Linked DNA regions of Homo sapiens: regions 2, 3, 4 and 5 are each linked to region 1. Evidence: promoter capture Hi-C in 16 types of primary human blood cells and fetal thymus (Javierre and others, 2016). All regions are on one chromosome and are shown on one strand. Each heading gives the region's core, a stretch centred on a gene start or on the middle of the fragment in contact. The rest is flanking DNA. Distances are from core to core; before and after follow the strand shown.

Region 1 (2,775 bases), core at 198-2,697:
AGGTTTTAACTGCAGGATCGGGGTCTGTCTTTTTCGCTTCCTCTGTTAGGAGCCTTTTTCTCGACAGAGTCGATTTATGGTTTGGATAGGGAAAGGGGGACGTCAAGTCAAGGTTTAAAATAGAAAGATTCAGCCTTATTGGGTTTAAAAGAGAGAGGTGCACCCCGGGGCTGTGGCCCCCCCCCCCCGCCCCTTCCACCCCAGCCCCAAAGGGCAGAAGAAACGCCTGACTTTAGGTTTCTCTATTGCAATTCCCTTGCAAAACAAGCGAAGAGAGTTGATTCCAGAGACCGCGAACCCTCGGCGGTTCGGCCGCAGGTCCCGAGGGTAGGGGGCACACCGCGCTGCACTTTTCCTGCAGACAGTTTAAGCATCAAATGTTGAGAACATCTCGGGGACAAGTGAAGACTCAAGGAAATCAAGATGAACGTGGGGAGAAACACGCCTTGGGAAGCCGCGGCGAGGTAGGTCTGCGTGCTCGGAGAGGTCGAGCGGGGGCTGGGGTAGGGGGTAATGCACTCGATTTAGGGATGGAAAAGAGCGAGAGAAAGGCGGAAGGTGGGGTGGGGGATGCAAATGGAGAGGGTGTCCTGAAGGAAAGCTGGGCGTGAAACCCGAGGTTTCGGGCAGCTCCACGGCACCAGGTTTCCAGAATCCAATTCCTAAAGAAACAGCAACGGGGGTGGGGATGGGACTCACCATGGCTGAAAAACTGTGAACTAACATCTGCGAAGAGTCTGGGGTAACGAGTCAGGGTGGAAAAAAACAAGCAAGCCTGGAGCGCCCGGCTGCCCCGCCGCCCGAGCGCGCCCCACACAAAAGGCGCCGAGAGCCCCGCGCCACCCAGGACTCCAGTCACGGCGCCGACGCTCCCCGGAGCGCGGGAGCCCGGCTCGGATCCATCCGAACTTGAACCACCGATTCGCGCGGCGCCTTCAGCTGGTCGAACCCACGGTCTCTATCCTGCCGCGACTGGTTATGATTCAAAGTTCTTTAAAAATGAAAAACCCCAAAAAAGGAAAAAGGAAAAAGTATGTGTGAGTGTGTGGGTGCGTGCGTGTTCCTTAATCCGTGTCTCCCCCTCTTTTCTTAGCGGCGGCTTCGCTTGAGCTTCTAATAACCGCGCTGGGCAGCGTTCCTGGAGCCTCCTAATAGCAGATATTCATGACTATTAATATTACACGAATACTTAATAAGGGAAGAATGCCTGGAAATCGAGCGTGAAGCGGAGAGGCAACTCGCGCCGGAGCCGGCTCTCAATGCAGTCCATTGACGGGAGTCTCAGTGTAGCAAATCGGAGTGGGGAGAGGGAGCGCGAGAGACAAAAAGCGAGCGAGAGAGGGAGCGGGCGAGCGCGCGGGGGGCCGCGGCGCGGCGTCTGGCGAATCACAGGGAAGGGGCAACATTTTAAAAGGTTGCAGGGCATGCAAAAGTGAAAGAGAAAGAGGCAGAGAGGGAGACCGAAGGAGAGAGCGCAGAGAGGGAGAATGTGTCTGCGTGCGTGTGTGAGAAAGAAAGTGTGGGCGAGGGAGAGGAGCCCCGGGTGGGGAGAGGGGAGGGAGGGAAGGAGGGAGAGCCCGAGAGGAGGAAGGGAGGGAAAGAGGGAGGGAGGAAGGGAGGGAGGGAGGGGGAGGGGGCCCAGCCGGAGCGCACGGAGGGGGAGGCCGCGGGGGAGGGGGAAGGGGAGAGGAAGCGAGCGAGGACAATCAGACCTAAAAGGCTGGGGCAGACCTCGGGATGCAGCGGGGGTCGTGCGTAGCGGGTAGGAGCTGCTTGGGACCGCGTCCGGGCGCTCGTGGGGCTCTCGGCGCGGCAGGCGCTTCCCGGCCCTGTCTGGCCGCGGGCTCCGCCGCTTCGCAGCCGAGTCTGGGACTCGGGACTCGGCTGCCCGCTGCTGCGCGGCTCCTCCATGACCCGGCGCCCTGCCCGGGACCGGCCCGCTCGCTGCACTGGTCCTCTCCTCGGCCTCCTCTTGAGCTTTCCTCGGACAGGGGCACCGTGCGCTCCCCGGCCACCGTCGCTCTGCCCTCGGCTCTCTGGGGCCGGGGATTCCGGATCGGGAGCCGGGATGCGGGCCGGGGCGCGCACAGACGCTAGGCGGCCCAGCCCGGGCGCCGCTGGCACCGGCTCGCGGCTCCCGGCAAAAACCCGTCCGACTGGCTGGGCCACTCCCGCCTGACGCCCCCCCAGATGACACGACTAGCTCTCCCGGCGTGCTGCCTTTGCCAGTCTACCCGCCAGGTTGTCAGAACAAGCGGCACCTCGCCTCCTGCGTGTCCCTACAGAGCCCCGGCACAATCAGACTGCCCCAAGCCAGCTCCGAAACCCGAAATCCCCGCTCCGGCGCTTGCCCACCACGGCCAAAGTTGTGGAAACAGCTTTGACTTTATTCTCCTCTCTCTCTCATCTTTTTTTGCCTCGCTTACACACGCATTCACACTTGCCCCCACAGGATCCCTCTAGGGGTGCAAGTTCATCCCCCACCTAGCCACCCACCCCATCCAGTCGGCACCTAGAGCCGCACGGAGGTTCGGACCCCGCCCGCCGAGGGCGCCCACACCTGGAGCTGGGTTTCGGCCTCTGCGAAAGTGAAATGCCCAAGCCTCCGGCCAAAGCCCAGACCAGTACAGTATGAATTGTCCTATGAGACTGAGGGGTTCGGCTTCATTCCTACCTGCCCGCAAAGCTCGCCCCCAGCCTCGAAAACAAAGCGACTGGTCTGACGTGGGGTCCCTGCGCCCCTCCTCTAGCGCGACAGGACCCCCCCAGGGAAGA
Region 2 (2,775 bases), core at 110-2,609, 390 kb before region 1:
ATCGCTTCAACCCTGGAGGTGGAGGTTGCAGTGAGCCTAGATCACGCCAATGCACTCCAGCCTGGGCAACAAGAGTGAATCTCCATCTCAAACAAAACAAAACAAAACGAAAAACCACAAAAACTTGTCTATGAAATACCAAACCCATGTTTCTATCTTCCTCTAGAAAATTTCCACTTAAATTTCCTATAAGCAGCACAGAATCTTTCTCACTCACCTTTTTTTTTTTTTCTTTCTAGCAGTCAGGCCCCTCAGCTGCAGGTCTTCTGGAGTTTGCTGGAGGTCCACTCCAGACGCTGTTTGCCTGGATATCACCAGCGGAGGCCGCAGAACAGCAAATTTTGCTGCCTAATCCTTCCTCTGGAATCTTCCTCCCAGAGGTGCACCTGCCTGTATGAGGCATCTGTCGGTCCCTACTGGGAGGTGTTTTCCAGTCAGGCTACAAAGGGGTCAGGGACCCACTTGCAGAGGCAATCTGTCCGTTCTCAGAGCTTGAATGCCATTCTGGGAGAATGACTGCTCTCTTCAGAGCTGTCAGACAGGGACATTTAAGTCTGCAGAAGTTGTCTGCTGCCTTTTGTTCAGCTATGCCCTGCCCACCTTTTTTTCTTTTCTTTTTTTGAGATGGAGTCTCACTCTGTTGCCTGGGCTGGAGTGCAGTGGCACTATCTCAGCTCACTACAACCTCTGCCTCCCAGATGCAGGCAATTCTCCCACCTCAGCCTCCCAAGTAGCTGGGATTACACACCTGCGCCAACACACCTGGCTAATTTTGTATTTTTAGAAGAGAAGGGATTTCACCATGTTGATCAGGCTGACCTCGAACTCCTGATCTCAAGTGATCCATCCGCCTCAGCCTCCCAAACTTCTCACTCATCTTTAATCAAACACCAATTCCTACCACTTTGACATCCTAACTCTCTATCAAACCCTCTCCCTTTTTCCTCGCCTTGGTCAATGACCTGTGTCATTTTCCCCATCCCCTTCATGCTGTCTGGCCTGGAATGCTCACCATCAGAACCAAGCCTACTTGTTCTCTGGTCTCAGTGTAATGTCACTTCCTCTGGTACATACTCCAAAACCCCACCCACAAGTCTGGGTTCTATACAAAGGTACTCTCGTATCATCCCAAGCTAATCGTATCATACAACTTTTATAAAAACCTGTTTATTTGTCTAGAGCCTTTAGCTGCAGTTTCCTTGAGAAAAGGAACTGTGTACTTGCTGTTCTTCCCGTTCACTATTCTATGTCCAAGCCTAGCAGAGTTCCTCGAATATACAGGTATTCATAAACGCTCACCAAATTAACTTCACTCTACTGGGATGTGCTCATTATCTTCCCACCAGATATATGTTCTTCCTTTAACTTCCTTCTATTTTGGTTAATATACTCAGCTGTCCAATCATAAACAACGCTTTTTAAAAATTTCTATTTTTCTCCCATTTAGTAGTTGGCTAGACCTTTGTACCAGGCAGGAAAATGGATTGTTAAATTCTCATGAAATATATTAGCCGGGCATGGTAGCACGGACCTGCAGTCCCAGCTACTTCGGAGGCTGAGGTGGGAGGACCACTTGAGCTCAGCAGGTGGAGGTTGCAGTGAGCTGAGATCATATCACTGCACTCCAGCCTCGGTGACAGGGAGAGACTGTATCTCAAAGAAAAAGAGAAAAATTAAATTACACAAACTTAAAATTAAATAAATTAGATTAAAAAGGCATTAAATGGTTAAAACTCATCACCTCCTAATTATTTTACTCCAGTTTACTATTACCTATGCGCTTGAGATCATCCTGCCCCATTGTGTCTGGTGGAAATACTATATAATGGCATGCGGCTGTGTGTTCAGTAGCGACAGTGTGTCTGTAGCTTGAAATCGAACATGGTGACAATGTTTACACCATAAAAAATCAACAAATGCTACAAACCTGCAATTTACCTTTTCTTTTGGAGAACCTGTTGTAAAGCATTTAGACCAGCACTCTCCCACCCTCACTGATTGTGATACCTGGCCTGGCCTCGTGGCCCCTGGTTACACAGTGGGCCCACCACCTCTGCCTTCCCCTCAAATTAATTCTCCACACTTCTGCAGAAACACTTTTCCTACAACATAAATATGATCAGGTCACTCCTCTACTTAAAAACTTACACTCCTGCTCAGCATCTACATAGCCAAGACCTCACTCCCTACTATGGTTTCTAAGGCCCTTCAACAGCCCAGCCCTGCCTCTCAAGCCTCCTTCCCACCACGCCCTTGACCATTCAAGGCTCTGGCTATGTTGTACCTCCTGCAGCTGTGACTCTTTAACCTCTTCTCATGCTGTTCCTGCTGCCTAGGCTGCACTCAACTACCTTGTGTGTTTGGCAAACTTCTGGACGTCATTTGAGTTTCAGTTCAAATACCTAATCCTTGCTAAAGTGTTGCCTGACTTCTTGTCACTGAAGAGTTCCTCTCCTGTGCCCTCACCATCATCATCCTCACACAGCAATCACAGTGCTTATAATGTTCCTGTATTTTGGGGTTTTCCTGTGTCTCCTCCACCTCACTGAGTCCTTCAAGGGCAGAGACAGTGTGCCTGTCATCAGGCATGTCATATGCTGAGTGTTATTGAAGTATTGGCTGAAAGAATAAATGAATGAATGTGTGGGAGTGAATGAGGCTACAACCACTCACTAATAAAATGAGTTTTTCAACCATGATGGTCATGGAGATGACAGTAATACCACAGTGGCCAAGACATTAGTGATTCCTTATGGTAGAGATCATCCAGGGACA
Region 3 (2,775 bases), core at 176-2,675, 370 kb before region 1:
GGATGGACCATTGTAGACCTTGCCTTAGATAAAAGAAAGATTTGTTTGTCCTCAAACTCAGTTCGTAACCTACCGCAATGCTGATCCACCAAAATGGGCTCACAGGCCTTCGTGGAGTGATCGAATTGTCTGAACAATCCAGGAAAATTGATAAATGCAGATTGTTACCTGCCCCATGTCACCAGGATCTTCCACATCACTCTGGTTGTAGACACCAGGCTGGGTAGAGCTACCTGCTGGTAATGATTTCCAGTCACATAAAAGGGAGGCCAAATTGTAACAGGTGACACAAAGGGGAAAGATTCTGTATCACATTACTAATTCCCAAGAGCTAACCCAGGTCACTGGACTTTCCTCGTGTGAAGTTCGGGAATTTACAGACATTTTAAAATTAGCATTTCTCCTGGCCTAATTACTTGTCTTAACAGTCAGTCAAGTAATGTCTAATAAGCACTCCCTGGCTTGTGGTGACTCACTAAGCCTATAGGAGACTTAATCCAGAATGACAGGGTCCCCGCCTACCAGGCACTTACCATCTAATACAAAGACAACAGACTCACACATAAGGGGAGACATTCCATCCAGACACAAAAGTGAGGGTTTATTCTGTGTTGGCTGTGTTTGGGGTGCTTGGATTTTGTTGTCTACTTTAGGGGTGTGTGTGTGTGTGTGTGTGTGTGTGTGTGTGTGTGTGAGAGAGAGAATGCAAGATTCTTGAGATGCAAGATTACAAGCACTAAAACAGTTACGGAACTAGGGGACAAAACAGAGTTCGCTGATTATCAATTTAAGGCTTCACTATTAAGTTGAATGGATTATCCCCCTAGGTGCTACTGTGCATTATGGAGGTTTTACAAAGTGGAAGCTCCAAAAATCAGACTTAACATGGACTGACCCCATGTATATCCCCTCACACCCTTCTTCCCTGTGTGTTTTCTGCCCTCCTGCACCATGGCCCTTGTCCTGCAAGTATGTTTAATGTGCCCTAATATGTGAGTCCCGCTCCCTAAAGAGGCCATAGTCAGGATTTGGTGTTGCTTTTGGTAAGGCCGCCATGCTTGTTAGTTCATTTCTTCTCTCTCCTTGGCTAAATGGTAACTACTAGCAGTGGAGTCAGAAGACTCACTTATCTCTATGGGATATTTTATCTCTCTGCCTCCATTTTCTAATCCATAAAAATACAGATAATACTCATGAGTTTATTGTGACAATTTTAAAAATTAGCTCCCCTCTCAAACATTTTATACACTGTCAAACACTAATCACACATAAGGAATCATTAAGGTTTTTATATATGACCTTGATTTAGTTTCCAATCCAATGGTAATCACCATTTTAGACTCTTCAGAAATTATCTCAAGTTGGGACTATATGTTGAATATTCTCATGAATTAAACTACTGATTTCCAGAGATCTTTAAAATTGATATGCTAAAATAAAAATAAATTACATATTATCAAATGTGTATTAATAAAAGCCCCAGGAAGAGTCAACCTGTTAAATCAGAAAATGCATGAGCTTCTTTTAAATCATTTTTAATTATAGTTGAATAACACAATATGAACTTTACAACTTAACCATTTTGAAGCATACAGTTCTGTGCAAGTTCACAATGTTGAACACCTACCACCACCATCCAACTTTAGAATTATTTCATCCTCCAAAACTGAGCTTCTGTATGCATTAAACACTAACTCTCCATCCTTCTCTCTCCCCACCCCTTAGCAATCACCATTCTACTTTCTGTCTCTATGAATTTGGCTGCTCTGTGTGCCTTTAATAGAAGTGGAATTACAATATTTGTCCACTGTGACTGGCTTATTTCACTTAGCATAGTCCAAGGTTCATTATCCTATTCAAGTATCCATTTTGTAGCATGAAACACATGGGGTTTTGTGCCAGGTGATCCATAGCTTGTATTCCATCTCTACCACTTAACCAGCAAAGTGAAAAACTAAGTGGTTTAGTCAAAAATACTACGGTTATGAAAATAATTTGGCCAAAACAGTGAACTGAACTTGTAAGCATACACAAACACACATACACACACACACACACGCACACATACCACAAAATGCCAGAGTACCATACTTAATAAAACATACTGTTTGACTCTGTAGTATTAAGTAAAATAAAAGCCCCAGGAAGGGTCAATCTGTTAAATCAGAAAATGCATGAGCGTTTTAACTCTGTTAAACGCAGTTAGTCCTTTTTTGGCTGCATTTGAAGAACCACCTGTTTATTTTTTATTTCCACTGTTGTGTGATTCTTAACAAGAGGCTATCACAGTTTTTCAAGGGTTTAGTTCACTATTTTGGGAACATTTCTAAAATTCTGCTATACTTTTAAGTAATAAAAGAATGTTTCATATAATCAGAAACAAGATGCCCAGTTGGAAAAAAATTGATATTGACTTTTATGATAATAAAAGCATCACTGAACTTAGATTGTAAAAGAGGAATTAGAACTTGTCATGCCAAAACTATATGGCCTACATGAGAAACCTCTGGAACACATGAAAATAGATAACCTATGTTTCCTGATCATTTGATCTTCAAGTATAAGAGATTTTCATGCAGCAGAGATGCATGCAAAGTTTTGTAACTTTCATTAATTTTTAATCATTTTCTTTTTTCAGAAAATCTTTGCCCTCCCATACACAAACTCTCTCATTTTTGTTTAGTTTGTTGTTAACTCATTTCAGACAAGTATGCCTTCTTTTTGTTTGTGTTTTCTACTTTTAAAATTTTATCTGTAGTAAATATTGCCTTTGTG
Region 4 (2,775 bases), core at 135-2,634, 350 kb before region 1:
ATCTTAATCAAATTTTCACCAAAAAAATAGTGTAAATGTTAACTGTACACAGTAAACTAAGATTTGTGTATGAGAATTCGGTATAGGATAAACTAATTTAGAGGGTCAGAGAAGACAACTAAAAAAGTGATCTGGAAGTTGAGCTTTAAAGGGTGAGTAGGAGTTAACCATAAATAGTTAACCAAGGGAGAGTCTGGGAGGAGAAGCAGGGGGAATCCCATGGGTGTGGACAAAGTATCTGTGGAAACCAAGTCCAACAGGAGCATAGAGTGTCCAAGAGAAAGTTCGTGTGGCTGGAGTACACACAGCTAACACAAAATGAATTTGGGGCCAGTAGGCAGGGCACACAGGACCTTGCATATTGTATTCAGGATTCTAGTCATTATCTTAGAACTGGGGAGTCATTGAAAGGTTTTGTGTGGGTGAATGTGTGTATGTGTGTGTGTGCTTGTGTGTACACTCTGACAACACAGGCTCTGGAGGAAGGATCATGCATGATCGTATTTATACTTCAACTCAGTCACTCTAGCTGGGATATGGAGAAGACATTAAAAATTGAAATGGAAATCAAGCTACCTATGGAGACTGGATAGAAAGCTAATGCCTTGATCTAGGGAAGAGGTGATGAAAAAATGGCCCAAGATAATTACCAGGAAGCAAGTCAGGAATGAAACTCTGTCCACTGTCCCTATGGGCCATCCATTCAGTTCTCAGCCAAAGATCCAGTTTGAGGGGGAAAAGATAGGTCCTGTTGATTTTGAGCTGCCTTTGAGAAAACCAAGTAGACATAAGAGTAGACAACTGGCTAATATAGTTTAGAGCCCCCAGGGTACACCAAGGCTAAAATTATTTGAGTTGTGAGGATGTTCTAAAGGAAATATAGGATTTTCCTATATGGAGACTAAGGGACATTCCAGAAAGAACACTTGTAATCACACTAAAACAAGAACACGTAGAGTCTGTTCTTTCATTAACCATGAATGCAAAGTATTTTCTTTTATAACACAATTTAATCAAGACTTTTAAAAAATTAAGCCCTAAAAGGCATTAATCCATTATTTCTGGATTATTTCTCTTTCCTTCATCTAATGGAATGGTAATTTTAGAGTAGACTCACGTAATACATGAAGTAACCTCATAATAAAGGGTGAATTCCTACATCCCATGAAATTTACAACTTCTCTTTTCTTATCATCACAACTTATCCAAAACTTTATAGAATTTAAAATCCCTTCTAAGCTTCTCAACTATTTCTACAATTTGTTAAAATATCTGGTAGATTTTTGCCTTTGATTTTTTTTCCTCAAACCCGTTGTCACCAAACACCATAATTTGGGCATCCATAATTCACTATTAATAACAAAAAACAAAATGTGCAAGTGAGTTAATTCTTTATGAAATTAGCTTATATGCAAATTATTCTTTTAATTAAGGTCAGTCTCATTGATTGCATTCAAATACACTTTCTGGAGAGGAAGAGAAATCTGTGGAATTGCAGTCAACGTGCAGGGATTTGCAGGGGGAAATAACAAAGCTTATCTGCATCACCAACCACAGGGTGTCAGATACGTTAATGTCATCTTTCACATGTGCTGCGTTCGAAGAAATTGAGAACTACTGCTCTAAACATCAAAATTTTGAAACCCCAAATAAAATATATGAACAATAATACATTCATTTTTCTTTTTATGCAAGTCAGAAGAAAAATATTGCAGATGCTTTATTTTATAAGTCATTCCAAATAGTGAAGTAATTATTTTTCAGATACAAAAGAATAAACTTAAAGCAGCATTTACTATATATGTATTATATATATATAATTTTTTTTCACTGGGAACAAACTAACAAGTACAGGTAGAATTACCTTCTGTAAATGCTTGCAAAACAAAGCAATTGAAACATTTAATTTTATGTGTTGTGACATGAAAGAGAATGCCATCAACACACATCTATTTAACTGAGCACACAGTGAAATTATACCCAAGAAACTGGCTACTGGTTTTAGTTTTTCATGTGGGAAAACCTAGAACACAGACTATGTCCTTAATACATTTATTATCATGAGATTATAAAAAACAGTAAGTACTGCAATGAATTATAAGACATATTTCTTATTCAACTTAAAAAGTTTCCCATAGGACTTTCACAGGATTTCCTTTTTGACATAAAGTTTATATTGGAAGTATAAACTCTTGAAAGGATAACATATATTTGTTTTGTTTTTTTGTTTTGGGGATGGGTTTTTTGTTTTTGTTTTTGCAGCAGGGCCTCACTCTGTCACCCAGGCCGGAATGCAGTGGCGCAATCTCAGCTCACTGCAACCTCTGCCTCCCGGGCTTAAGCAATCCTCCCACCTCAGCCTCCAGAGTTGCTGGGATTACAGACACATCTCACCACGCCTGGCTAATTTTTGTATTTTTTTGTAGAGATGGGGTTTCACCATGTTGCCCAGGCTGGTCTCAAACTCCTGAGCTCAAGTGATCTGCCCACCTCAGCCACCCAAAGTGCTGGGATTACAGGTGTGAGCCACTGTGCCCAGCCAAGATGGCATATATTTGGATGCAAAGACAGTAGATTCTAATGTCTTAAACAATGCCTGGAATGGTATTTCTTTATTTCAATATATATATTGTTCTGAAGTGATTAGGTTATAAAATTACTATTTGAGAAATTTTCTTCTGTTTAGAAACAAAAAAGTTTGCCATTCCTTCAGAATAGTTGCCATACGATTACCAATTTAATCAATTTTTGAGCACTCTCCACCTTTAGATTCTA
Region 5 (2,775 bases), core at 197-2,696, 330 kb before region 1:
CGATAAATCTTATGTAGGATTAAAAGCCTTTTTGGCCAAGTTCCTAGACTGAGACTATTTTTTTGCTTGTTCATTCATTTTGGTTTGAGGTGTAGGTCAGTCCTGAAACCAAAATCATCAGGAGGTAACAACTGCTGTGTGTGCATGCATGTGTTAATATATTTATGCACGCGTGCGCATGTGTGCATTTTCTCACTAGTAGTGTAACCTAGTATTTATTTCCAATTCCCACGATCCACTGAAAGCAACAGTGGTTTTAGTTCCATGAAGGAACAAATTGGTTCCTGCAGGAGCAGACACTGGTTTCCTACTGGCAAAATCTGAGGGCACCACCAAGCTGATTTGGCAAAATGAACTCCGAACCAGTCTATTCGTCACAGTGAGGGGCAGTTACCAACCAGAATGGCTCACTGGTGTCTAATAAAGACAGGAAGTGGTCTTTTGGCAAGTGGTCATTCTCTCCATCTTGGAGCATATTTCCTCTTGTGACTGGTAGGTATCAGCTATCAGGCAGCCTAATTTACCTGAAAAATGTTGTTAGGCATAGGATGAATTCAGGTTCATGGTGTAACAGTTTAAACAGAAGTAGTGCAGGTATTTCAAGAGGAAGTTTATTTTCTCCTTGAATGTGTATTTTACTCATTGGCAGGGCCACAAGGCTACTAAACATTCCTAATCCATATCACTGCTGCATTTTAGGCAAAACAAGCAAGTACACCTCATTATTTTGTACTGACTGGGTGTCTGTGAACCTCCGTAAGCAGAGCTGTGGTTCTTGTTCCCCATTTTTCCTGTACTCCTTTGGGCTGAACGATTTGTGGGCCCACAAACTACAATAAACTAGAGACATTTTGAACAAGAAATGTATTTGCCTCCTGCAAATACTACCTGATTGAGAAAGTGTGTGAGCATGTGTGTTAACATAAATATGATAAGAAGAACAAGAAGTTTAGTCTGCATGAATAAAGTGGCACTTTTTCTTGATGCCTTGATGTTTTATTTTAAAACTCACCATGTAAGGCAGGAAAATGTCTAAATTTATATTCCATAAAATCTGAGTTCAGCTACTGCGTCTACTTTAATGTGATGTCTTTAGGACATGAACCCATTATGATAATAATCTGATTGGTAAAGAGAGGTCATTAGATATCTTTCTCCAAAGAGATAGCTGCCAGAAAGAAATAGCGATTAGAGGTGTAAAAAAGATTTCTTTAATGTTTCCTGTTTTGCCATTTTATCTGTAGTAAAAAATTTATTCTTCCATGCTCAATAAATTCTGAAGAGTGCTTTGAGTTCAGGGGATAGTAGACTTCTTTACATGCACAATAACTGTTGAATACTGGTTATGAATGGGCTTCCTAACTACACTTTTGATGTATGCATATTGTTTTGATAAATGAAAATACAAATGCACTGAGGAAAAGATAGATCAGATTTTTGTTTCAGAAGGAAACTCAGTGATTCTTACCTCTTCACAAGAAAATGTATTTGATATATCTTTTGCTAGAATATTTTGTAAGCTAGAGGTTTTTTAAAATTTTCTTTCTGAAGTTTTATTAATGCTATTTTTATGGGGAAAAAATTATAACAACCACATAGTTATAGAAATTAGGCCAGGCACGGCGGCTTCTGCCTGTAATCCCAGCACTTTGGGAGGCCGAGGCAGGCAGATCACCTGAGGTCAGGAGGTCAAGACTAGCCTACCCAATATGGCAAAACCTTGTCTCTACTAAAAAAAAAATACAAAAAATTAGCCGAGTGTGGTGGTGGCTGCCTGTAATCCCAGCTACTCAGGAGGCTGAGGCAGGAGAATTGCTTGAACCCAGGAGGCAGAGGTTTCAACGAGCCAAGATCGCACCACTGCACTTCAGCCTGGGCGACAGGAGTGAAACTTCATCTCAAAAAAAAAAAAAAAAAAATTAAACACATTACAAGAGGGGTTGCTTCTTTTGGGGAATTATAGTGCCAGAACTGAAAAATGATTGTGCAATCAGTACACAGCTATATCCCCTTGTTATAGCTGTAGCATAGCTGTAGCAGCTCTGGATCTGGGAGCCACTATATCAAGGCGGCTACTGAGAGGAGCCCATTTCAGCTCTCTGAGCCCCAAGACTCTCCTGGGCATCATTTGAAATCTTTTTGGAGGCAGCCACACTCCCATGGCCCATGCACTCTGCAAACCAGTGAAGATGTGAAGATGGCACCATGCAAATGCCACCAAGATTTACTGCCTGTGCTCTCTGGAGGAGTAGCCACCACTGTACCACGGCTTGCTCGAACCAAACCTAGGGCAGCCGAGGACTACTGCTGACAAGTAGGGAGCAGAGCTTTAAGGTGGCGCTGGGCAGAGAGCCCTGAGATCCCACAGGCACCCTGGTCCTCTCCTTTGAAACGGTCCTGTCCTTGAGGCCCTGGCACTCTGGACTTGTGATGGGAGTGGCAGCCCCACAGATCTTTAAAATGCCTTAAGAGTCACTCTTCTATTGTCTTGATGAATAGCATGTGGCTGGTACATACTAATCTCCTTACTCACACCTTTGGTGTGCTCTCCCGAACATGCTTTCTCATTTGTTACAATATCGGCAGGCTGAGAATTTTCTGCATCTTTAACTTCTGCTTCCCTTTTGATGATAAATTCTGTCTTTGAATCTTTTCTGTCTCCTCGCATTTCCTATAAGCAGTCAAGAGAAGCCGTGCAGCACCCACAGCACTGTGCTTAGAGGATTCTTCTCCCAAATATTCAATTTCACCATCCACGAGCACTACCGTCCACTG

What was found. The method cuts DNA at HindIII sites, captures the fragments that hold promoters and counts their contacts. A CHiCAGO score of 5 or more calls a contact.
Region 2: a fragment that was not itself captured here is called in contact with the fragment with the promoter of TFAP2A-AS1 in region 1 in 1 of 17 cell types (M2 macrophages); the score reaches 5.0 in M2 macrophages.
Region 3: a contact is called between a fragment that was not itself captured here and the fragment with the promoter of TFAP2A-AS1 in region 1, in 1 of 17 cell types (M2 macrophages). The highest score is 6.5, in M2 macrophages.
Region 4: a fragment that was not itself captured here is called in contact with the fragment with the promoter of TFAP2A-AS1 in region 1 in 1 of 17 cell types (M1 macrophages); the score reaches 6.0 in M1 macrophages.
Region 5: a contact is called between a fragment that was not itself captured here and the fragment with the promoter of TFAP2A-AS1 in region 1, in 1 of 17 cell types (M0 macrophages). The highest score is 5.5, in M0 macrophages.

The regions. Positions count from the first base shown.
Region 1 is chr6:10,410,871-10,413,645 of GRCh38, forward strand. TFAP2A-AS1 (TFAP2A antisense RNA 1) reads left to right here and starts at 1,448. Exons shown (of 3, transcript NR_033910.1): 1 at 1,448-1,497. All of the region lies in intron 1 of TFAP2A (transcription factor AP-2 alpha), which reads right to left. RefSeq lists a silencer at 1,688-2,047. The HindIII fragment of the contact is 20,769 bases long and covers 1-2,775 here.
Region 2 is chr6:10,020,946-10,023,720 of GRCh38, forward strand. It overlaps the pseudogene OFCC1. Among named protein-coding and RNA genes, the nearest start is that of TFAP2A-AS2, 380 kb to the right of the region's middle. The HindIII fragment of the contact is 8,032 bases long and covers 1-2,775 here.
Region 3 is chr6:10,043,333-10,046,107 of GRCh38, forward strand. All of the region lies in intron 1 of LOC105374919 (a long non-coding RNA gene), which reads left to right. It also overlaps the pseudogene OFCC1. Among named protein-coding and RNA genes, the nearest start is that of TFAP2A-AS2, 360 kb to the right of the region's middle. The HindIII fragment of the contact is 3,914 bases long and covers 1-2,775 here.
Region 4 is chr6:10,062,643-10,065,417 of GRCh38, forward strand. It overlaps the pseudogene OFCC1. Among named protein-coding and RNA genes, the nearest start is that of TFAP2A-AS2, 340 kb to the right of the region's middle. The HindIII fragment of the contact is 295 bases long and covers 1,238-1,532 here.
Region 5 is chr6:10,078,768-10,081,542 of GRCh38, forward strand. It overlaps the pseudogene OFCC1. Among named protein-coding and RNA genes, the nearest start is that of TFAP2A-AS2, 320 kb to the right of the region's middle. The HindIII fragment of the contact is 3,027 bases long and covers 1-2,775 here.